3 separate regions of the Homo sapiens genome follow, and all the other regions are linked to region 1. The links are contacts of gene promoters, found by promoter capture Hi-C in blood cells and fetal thymus (Javierre and others, 2016). All regions are on one chromosome and are shown on one strand. The core of a region is centred on a gene start or on the middle of the fragment in contact, and the rest is flanking DNA. Distances in the headings are between cores, read along the strand shown.

Region 1 (3,037 bases), core at 304-2,803:
CTAGGCATCCTTCACAGAGGGGAAAAAGCAGAAGCTGTGTAGTCTAAAGACCCTGGCTCAAGCTGTCTTCGTAATCTTTTTGCTGCTTGGGCTGCTCTCGATGTCTCAATGTTGGGAAAGAACAAGGCTCAGCCAACAGTAAGGACCTTCCTATGTGCCAGCTACCATGTGCTGTAATCAAGTGTTTTCTTAGTTCCCCTTACACCTCCTCTGTATTTCAGAAAGTCCTCTACCCTGAAAATGTGATGAGAGTGCCACATGACAACTTACCTTCTTATGCACTCCATTGGTCGGCCATTCAGCCAATATCAGATTTGGGGGTCTAGTCAGGTCTTGCTTCCCAAGCTTTTCAGAAACCCTGATGAAACAGGCATAGGGTCTAAACTTAGGGAGGGCAAAACTTACAGCCAACTCCAAATGCAGCAAGCAAAATAAATAAGCGCCTAAACCATTGAATCTTTATGTGAAAGCCATAGCCCTTTAGAGCTAACATTTGCAATCTTCTTAATTATAGGAAGTAGATACAGAGGGGTAAAGTTATTTAACTGGGAATCTACCCCACACCTCAAAGGTTAGGTCACTAATTGCGGGTGCACAGGAGAGATGGTAGGATGGGAGGGACAGGAGAAGACATGTTTAGATATATCTGGTAAATAATTTGGTGGTGGTGGGAGCCTTCATTCCCACCCCCAACCCGCCCCCCCCTTTTAAAAAAATCCTATTTCCGAGACAAAAGCAATATAACATAACTTTGTATTTCCTGAAACTTCCAGTTTCTAAGAACTGTCCAAGAGTACTTACACGCACATTCCCGAGACCGTTGGAGTTGTTCGATAGGTCTAGGGAGGGATCTGGGGATACGTGTTTTACAAGCACCATGAGCGATTCTTCAAAGTTGGGTGTTTGAATCAAAAGAGCAGAATTCATGATACCGTTTTGTGCACTCCTTGAGCTAAAAGGTAGTATCCCACCCTCTCCATAAACAGACACCTAAGTTATAAAACTTATGCGCTCGATATGCAAAAATAGCTCGTTTTATACAGAAACGATCCTTTCCTTCTTTTCCTTATATATCTTTTAACTGTCATCACTCCTAACCTAGACCTAGAGTGGCTTTTTCCGGTCCTAGCTCTGCCGGACACACGCTCTGCCCAGAGACCCGATCCACCCAAGGCCAGGCGGTCTGGGGTCACGTCTGTGTCCAGCGTCCGGCGGGCGCTGCCGTGCCGCTCTCCCATTGGCTGGAAGTTCCCTCGCGGGCCGGCGCGGCTCCTGCTCGCCACGCCAGCCCATCGGGCTACGGACCGCCCAGGGGGGCGGGGCTTGGGAGTTGGGGCGGGGCCCGGGTGAGGGGCGGGGCCTCGGGGCGTCGCGGACGTCCTGGCGGCCTACTGCGTGGGAGGGAGTCCTGGGCCGCGCCCCGCGAGGCCGGGCCCAGGCCGGGCCAATCCCGGGCCACTGGGCGGGCGACCGTGGGGCCTGGCCGGCCCGCCGGAGAGCCTGGGGGTTGGGGACGATGGGCTAGTTCCTGGTGCGTCACGGGGGAGTTCCTTAAAGGGGAAGCGAGCCGGGCTACGGGGCGAGCGCGGGGTGCGGTGGTCGGCGGGGAGGCCCCCGCGCTTTAAAATAATGCCCGCGGCGCCCGCGCGACCATGCAATGGCGAGCGCTCGTCCTGGGGCTGGTGCTCCTCCGGCTTGGCCTCCATGGAGTATTGTGGCTCGTCTTCGGGCTGGGGCCCAGCATGGGCTTCTACCAGCGCTTTCCGCTCAGCTTCGGCTTCCAGCGTCTGAGGAGCCCCGACGGCCCCGCGTCGCCCACCTCGGGGCCCGTGGGCCGGCCTGGGGGGGTATCCGGGCCGTCGTGGCTGCAGCCGCCGGGGACCGGGGCAGCGCAGAGCCCGCGCAAGGCTCCGCGGCGTCCTGGGCCGGGGATGTGCGGCCCAGCCAACTGGGGCTACGTGCTGGGCGGCCGGGGCCGCGGCCCGGACGAGTACGAGAAGCGCTACAGCGGCGCCTTCCCTCCGCAGCTGCGTGCCCAGATGCGCGACCTGGCACGGGGCATGTTCGTCTTTGGCTACGACAACTACATGGCTCACGCCTTCCCCCAGGACGAGCTCAACCCCATCCACTGCCGCGGCCGTGGGCCCGACCGCGGGGACCCGTGAGTAGCCCCCGCCGCCCGGGGCCGCGCGCCCACGCGCTTCCTTCCGCCCTCCGCGCCGGGGTGCAGCCCTCTGTCCTCCGGGGCCCCCGAGGGCGCCAGGGCCGTTAGGGTCCCGGGCAGCGCTCCCGCGCCCTGTCCCGTGTGAGTCCCTGTGAAGACCCCCGAGCTTGAGGGTGCGGGGTGGGCCGGTGGCCTTCCTCTCCTGATTCTCCCGGAATCTCCAAACTTCAGAACTGCTGTCCAGCTCAGTGTCTTACGCGTGAGGATACTGAGGTCCAGGACCAGAAGGGACAGTGGCAGTGCCAAGGGCTGGCTTGGAGGGCTTTCCACTTCCATCCGACCCCTTCCTCCGGATGAGCATAAACTCTAAATGAAATCTCCATCATGCCCCCCGTGTAAACGCAGCCTCAGAACAAGCCTTTACCTCGCACCCCCACCTCTATCACATTGCCACACCCACGTCTTTTCTATGTAAAAAGCCTATAGTTGACTTCTCCAAAGCCGTCCATTGAGTTTGAGGCAGAACGGGGTTACAGCCTCTCCTTCACAGGGGCTGCTTCTTAGGCTGAGGATAGTTAGGTGGTGGGGAGGGAAGCTATGTGGCCCACTTTTGGGGTCCAGATACTTGAGGTGAAATTCACTGGATGCCAGATTGACTGTCAACGTCATCGCCCTGTACGATCTGTCTATAAATCCCCCGCCTCTGGTGGCGTGGTTGTCCGGGAAGGTCAGGCAGTCTTCCCTGTTCACCAGCCTTGTTTGCAAAGGCTGAGCTCCAAGGGTCACCACTGTTGACATCAAAGTCCAAGAGGGCAGTACACCCAGCTAAGGACCTCTTACCTGTAGGGAAGGAATGTGCATTGCCATAGACCC
Region 2 (3,041 bases), core at 39-2,538, about 59 Mb after region 1:
GACAGAGGTTTTGTTTCTAATGAGCAGTGTTGTATCCACAGGAATAGTGTTCTCTCCCAGTCTGTTATTTTTAAAAACTTTTAATATTTCCATATAGGCTACCCTTGACTGTGCTTTAAATTATACTGGCTTAAAGCAAGTGCAGAAATTTCCCTTGCGTGTGTATGAACATTTAAAAAATGTGTCACCCATGGTCTTAAATTTTAAAGAACCACTTTTTAAAAAATCTGTGATTTTGAAATATCCCTGTTTTCTAGTTTAAAAAAAAAATACTGCAAGCCAGGCATGCCTGTAAGTCCCAGCTAGTGGGGAGGCTGAGGCAGAAGGATTGCTTGAGCCTAGGAGTTTGAGTCCAGCCTGGAGAACATTACGAGACCCATCTCTTTTAAGAGAAAAAAAAAACTAGATAAAATATATTAATAATTTATATACAAGCTAAGAAAATGTAATGGTCTTCCTTTTTGCTCTGGGGTCTTCCTTCTTTTAAAATGCCAGTATGCTAATAAGGTATATTTGCTGAAAAGTGTGGGTTATTGATGTGGGGTGGCTTCAGGTCATCAGTGAACACCTCTACATAAATGAGCTTGTATGTTGATGTGCATTTCTCTGGAGGGTGTCCCCAGCTACCCCCCAGATAGGTTCAAGAAGCATTCAGAGTCACTGCTTTGAAGTATGTAATTTTAAAACCTTAGAGGGAGGAAGTAAAAATGATAAAAGTTAGCATTTTCTTCTAAAAATTAATAAAATTGTTAGTGTTTTACTTTAAATTTTATTAAAGTGTATTTGAATAAAGGACTTCAGGCCCTGTCCCATGCCCCAGCCAGTGGAGGCATGTTACAGTCTTCTGGAGTGGGAAATTTTTAAGTGGTTCTTACTTTAAGCTTCTAATTTAATTTTAGTATATAGATTTTGTCTTACAACAGTGGTTCAGAACCTTTTTGGGGAAAAGGGTTGGTCAAGAGTACCTTTAAATATCTCATTTTTAAAAAAAAAAAACCACGGTCCATCTTCCGAGAATAAAATAGTGCATACACATACACATTCTGAATTTTTCTATCTTGGATTAATGGACACCCCCACCCCAAGCCCATCCTTGGATTTCTAGGTTAAAAACTCTCATAAAACAAACTGCTTTTTTTTTGTATAGGGTACTAATTGGACACACAGTGGTGTAGTGGTGGTGGTGTATGAAGATAGCCACCTGAGTTCTGTAGAATTATGTCAGTTTCAGCTGTCCCTAAGAGAATGTGTGAAAGCATGCCTCAGCCCTGTCCACATCATGATCACAACTTGCCATTCTCCTTCTGCGCTCTTCCTGCCTACCTGACTCTCAGTAACATGGATTTCTCAGTAATACAGTACCTGTGGGCAATGAGGTTTGCTTTTTTCAAACCCAAGATGTTCTTTTTCAGTCATTTACAAAGCGTGGCAGGGAACCACACCTTTAAGTGTGCAAGACAGTATTGTTGACTGTGAAAGAATATTATACAGCAGATGTCTAGAACTTGTTCATCTTGCTATAACTGAAACTTTATGCTCATTGATTAGTAACTCCTTATTTCGCTCTCCCTTCAGCCGCTGGCAGCCACCACTCTAGTTGTTGATTCTGTGAGTTTGATTATAGATCTCATATAAGTGGAATCATGCGGTGTTTAGTCATTATGTGACTGGGTTATTTATCTTAGTATAATGTCTTCAAGCTTACCTCATACTTGTTGTAGCATATTGCAGAATTTCCTTCTTTTTAAGGGCTGAATAGTATTCCAGTGTATGTATATACTATGTTGTCTTCATCCAGTCACCTGTTGACAGACATTTATATTGTTTCTACATCTTGTCTATTATAAATAATACTTCAGTGAACATAGGAGTTCTAATAGCTCTTTGAGATTCTGATTTCAGTTATTTTGGATAACTACCCAGAAGTGAGGTTGCCAAAAGTTTTTTTTCAACTCAAAATCTTCAAGGAGCTTGACTGGCATTCTTCCTGTGCCTTTATTGCTAGGTGGAGTGACTTTGAATGGGTCTGCATTTTTCTCACATCTTCCTTTTCAAATGATATATGCTCCCCTTGTCGTCCTTCTTTAAGGGTGTCATTACTCTCCGTGGCATTGGGCTAAGCCTGTCATTGCATTAATAAGTCTTGAGACCCAGCTTGTCATGAGATCAGCATAGAACTGGCAGAAAATGCAGCATCCACCAGGCCTGCCCTTTTACAGGATGACTTGACTTTTTTTCATTGTTTTGTCAGTTCTTTTCCTTTTCCTTGCCTTCACGTTGGTCTGAATCTATTAAGCTTGGTAGGGCTAAACATGCCTGCATGTCCCTACCCTGAGTGTTTCCCAAGTTGCTGCCAGGTCTCTTCTGTCTTAGACTTAGAACGTTATCTGTTCTCTTCACCGTCAGGGGATTTGCTGCTGTTCATTCCCATTACTCATTCTCTGTTGTCTGTCTCCCATCCTCACTGCCCCTCCTCACTTCTTCATCTGTCTAATATCCCGTCGAAAGTCCTCTGTGCCTTCCACGCGGAGAGATTTGTGACTCCTGTAGCCTTTGTCCATTCACTCATTGTAGAACTTTTTATTACGTACATCTGTGAGCACAGGCCTCACTCTTTCTAGGTCGCAGGGAATAAAGGGTTTAGCACAATAACCACGTGTTCCCTATGCTTGTGGTGCTTACAGTCTAATGAAAGAGATGGAGAGTATTAATCACCAAAATAACTGTAAAATTACCACTGATGAGTTATAAAAAGATGAGAGGACTACATTATGAAAGCCTGCAAAAATGAAGTTTTTCCAGGGAAGGCTTTCTTGCCATAGGAACATTGGGCTGAAATCAATGTGATGATTTATCTGGGCTTGAGAGGGATGGGAGAGGTAGGAGAGGTGGAGGAAACAATATGTGTGAAGGCTCTGTGACAGGGGCAGAGCAAATTCCTTAGAACCTTAAAGCCAGCCAGGTGGCTGAACAGAAAGAGGGAAGAAGAGGTACGCGGGACCAAAGGAGCAGGGAGCAGTAAGCAAGGGTCTTAGAGTGTG
Region 3 (2,886 bases), core at 1-2,500, about 64 Mb after region 1:
CAGTGAACCTTAAGGAAAGCTTGTCCTTTATGGTCCCCCAATTAGGTTCAGTTCAATAGCATTCACTGAGCTGAAAGTCAATGCCAGGCAGTGAGCGTGGGAATAGAGTTCACAGTCCCTATCAAGAGATACCAGCCTCCTTCTGCATCACATGTCTCAGCGTCAACTATGAAACTACTTTTTCTTGCCCAGACAACTCCACAGATGGTTTCACTGAGGATTTAACCTCAGTGCTTATCAAAATGGGCTCCTGTAGCCTGAACCCCCAACAATACTGGATACCCTTTGATTAGTGGTAGTGAGCATTGCAACCCTCTCAGATAGTGAAAAGCAGCAGTCACCTTAAAGGCCACCTAGTCCAGTCTCACCCATTTCACAGGGGAGGAAACTGAGGCCTAGGGATAGAGTACAGCTAGCCGATGAAGAAGTCTGCAAAGGTATCTGGCCCTGCATCTGCTTGCTTTGAGACTAACAGCCTGACTCACCATGGTGGTATTTTGATAAACGACACCAGGCACTCTCACTGGCTTAGATTGATTGACGGATTAGAAATAGCCATCTGCCCTTGCCAGGAATGAAAGCAACAGAGACATGCAAGCAAAACCTTCAACAGATTTATTTTACTTCAAATGGAACATATCATAAACAATTAGACTATCTGCTATGGTTTTTAAACAGACAGATAGTCTGAATGGTCCTATCTAGACACACCAGTCCCATTATAAAAGCCCCATCAAGCAGGGCTCGGCTTCCCACACCTGTAGTCCCGGCTACTTGGGAGGCTGAGGTGGGAGGACTGTTTGAGCCCAGGAGTTTAAAACCAGCCTGGGCAACATAGTGAGACCCTGTCTCTAAAAATAATAATAAATTAAAGCTCCAGAAAGACCTCTACAGTGAATCTGACCCCTCCCTCCCCGGAATGAACACTAACAAAGAGCTGCTACTAATAGCATTTCAAACAGTTACTGGAAAAAAGTAATGACTCATTACATGTTCATTTTTATTTAAAATAATTTAACAAAGGTAGAAATATTTAGAGAAAAAAAAAATCTCCCATACCCCAAAGAGAGAGACAGGGTTAACATTTTGGGAGGGAGACAGAAGGGAATCATGCTATAAACAGCTTTCTCTGTCTTTTCAGAATTTATTTATTTATGTTTAAACCTCTAAAGAGGTTTAATTCTTTCTTGGGTATCAATTGCCTGTGATCAAGGAGTAATCATATTGTTACTAATACACTCTTGACAGCTTTTGGTCATGCAGTTCTGAGCAGTTGGAAGATAAAGTTCTTAGTTACAGCTTCTAATACTCATAAATCTCACCAACAGTGTGGGGCCCCACTGGAGTTCCCACTCTCATCTTGACCAAGATGATTTACTCAGCTTGCCCACAGTGCTGCCTCTTGACATTCTGAAGCCCTGGGGAATTCCTCCACACCCTCTGACTTCCTGTAACTGAGCACTGAGGCTCAGTGCATCTCTATTTAGCACTCCTCTTACTGTCTCATATTTAACTAGTGTTTCCACTGGATTGCAGAAGTTTTGAAGGCAGAGCAGGATTACATTTTTCTCCTCTTTAAAAAAAAAAAGAAAAGAAAAGAAAAAAAACCCACAGTGCTTTCACAGAGCCTCAAAAGAACTCGAAATACTTGCTGGCATTGTACTGAATATTCTCAACCTTTTCCCCCTACCCAGATACATCCACAACAATAAAGTTGGAGCAAGGTAGAGAAAAGTTAGTAGATGTTTATAATGAAAGCATAGAAAACAAATCAGATTAAAGCACTATTAATAGCAAACAAGAATCGTGGGCTATCCTATTGCTAATAACAATAATAGTAACATATAACTGTGAACCTTTATTATACACTAAGCATTTCCTATACATTCCTTCACTTAGCCTCGTCTATATGGCAGATGTTCCATTATCCCCACTTTACACATGAAGACACCGAGGCTGGGAGAGATTAAGTAGTTTCTCCAAAGTCACCTGCCAGAGAGGAAGGAGCTGCGACTCTAATTTTGCTTTCTCTGACTTCACACCATCCCATTTTTCCAGAATCAAGAAAACATGAGCACTCAGGAATATTTTCACATTTTAAACTTTATTCAAAAAGCAGCACATAAGATATATCTTAGCACTAATTCCATGCAATCACCAAATTTTCCTAAACAACAGTAGTAGTAGTAATTTCTTAGAGTCGCTGTAAGCTCCTTAACTGTCTTCTGAATTAATAAGGAAAATTAAATTATGTTTTCTAGACTTTGCATTAGTATATTTCATTACTTTCCAAGTTTTCAAAAATTGGTGATCTGAGTAGAGTGAATTCACCTTGTCTAAGCCACTTAGGGGCTTAGAGACTCTGTTATCTTAGAAATCTTCACCTTAGAATTCTACCTATTACATTATACAATTAAACAAACTACTTTTTTTCTCATGCATTGTACCAATCAGCCCCTTAACTGAAAAAAGATGACCCTTGGAAGCTTAGAAGAGAATTGACAACGAATACTTCTTTTGCCAGGTCTTTGGGCTGGGATACAAAACATCACGTTATCTATGAATATATTGTGGTCCCTCAGTGAAAGCTGTCACCAAATATTGCAATAAAACTAAGAAAACTTTTGAAGTGGAATGCATATTTCTGCCCAGAAAATGCTGGATGCAGAACAACTAGTTCACTGCAGACAACTGTTTGCTTTAAAATGTAAGCAACATGCCCAGCTCAGGACTGAAGTGGCCAGAGTGCCTACTTTATCAGAATGGCATAGCAGTCCAACAATTTAGCCTAGAGAGAACAGAGGTGGAGAACAAAGAAGAGAAGTGAAAAAAACAGACCAGCCCTTCTGTTCTACATGACCTTCTTTCCCGTTTTGCCAATCTGAT

What was found. Contacts are between HindIII fragments. The CHiCAGO score rates a contact against its expected background, and 5 or more counts as called.
Region 2: a contact is called between a fragment that was not itself captured here and the fragment with the promoter of EDEM1 in region 1, in 1 of 17 cell types (non-activated CD4 T cells). The highest score is 5.1, in non-activated CD4 T cells.
Region 3: a fragment that was not itself captured here is called in contact with the fragment with the promoter of EDEM1 in region 1 in 1 of 17 cell types (non-activated CD4 T cells); the score reaches 8.3 in non-activated CD4 T cells.

Annotation. Positions count from the first base shown.
Region 1 is chr3:5,186,154-5,189,190 of GRCh38, forward strand. It overlaps EDEM1 (ER degradation enhancing alpha-mannosidase like protein 1), which reads left to right and starts at 1,554. Exons shown (of 12, transcript NM_014674.3): 1 at 1,554-2,161. The coding sequence starts at 1,653. RefSeq lists enhancers at 12-71, 2,493-2,542 and silencers at 1,183-1,592, 1,833-2,002, 2,053-2,342. The HindIII fragment of the contact is 7,598 bases long and covers 344-3,037 here.
Region 2 is chr3:63,983,227-63,986,267 of GRCh38, forward strand. The region is part of intron 8 of ATXN7 (ataxin 7); the gene reads left to right. Among named protein-coding and RNA genes, the nearest start is that of PSMD6-AS2, 19 kb to the right of the region's middle. The HindIII fragment of the contact is 819 bases long and covers 880-1,698 here.
Region 3 is chr3:69,081,607-69,084,492 of GRCh38, forward strand. No RefSeq gene overlaps it. Among named protein-coding and RNA genes, the nearest start is that of ARL6IP5, 1.9 kb to the right of the region's middle. RefSeq lists enhancers at 471-530, 1,335-1,494. The HindIII fragment of the contact is 2,467 bases long and covers 18-2,484 here.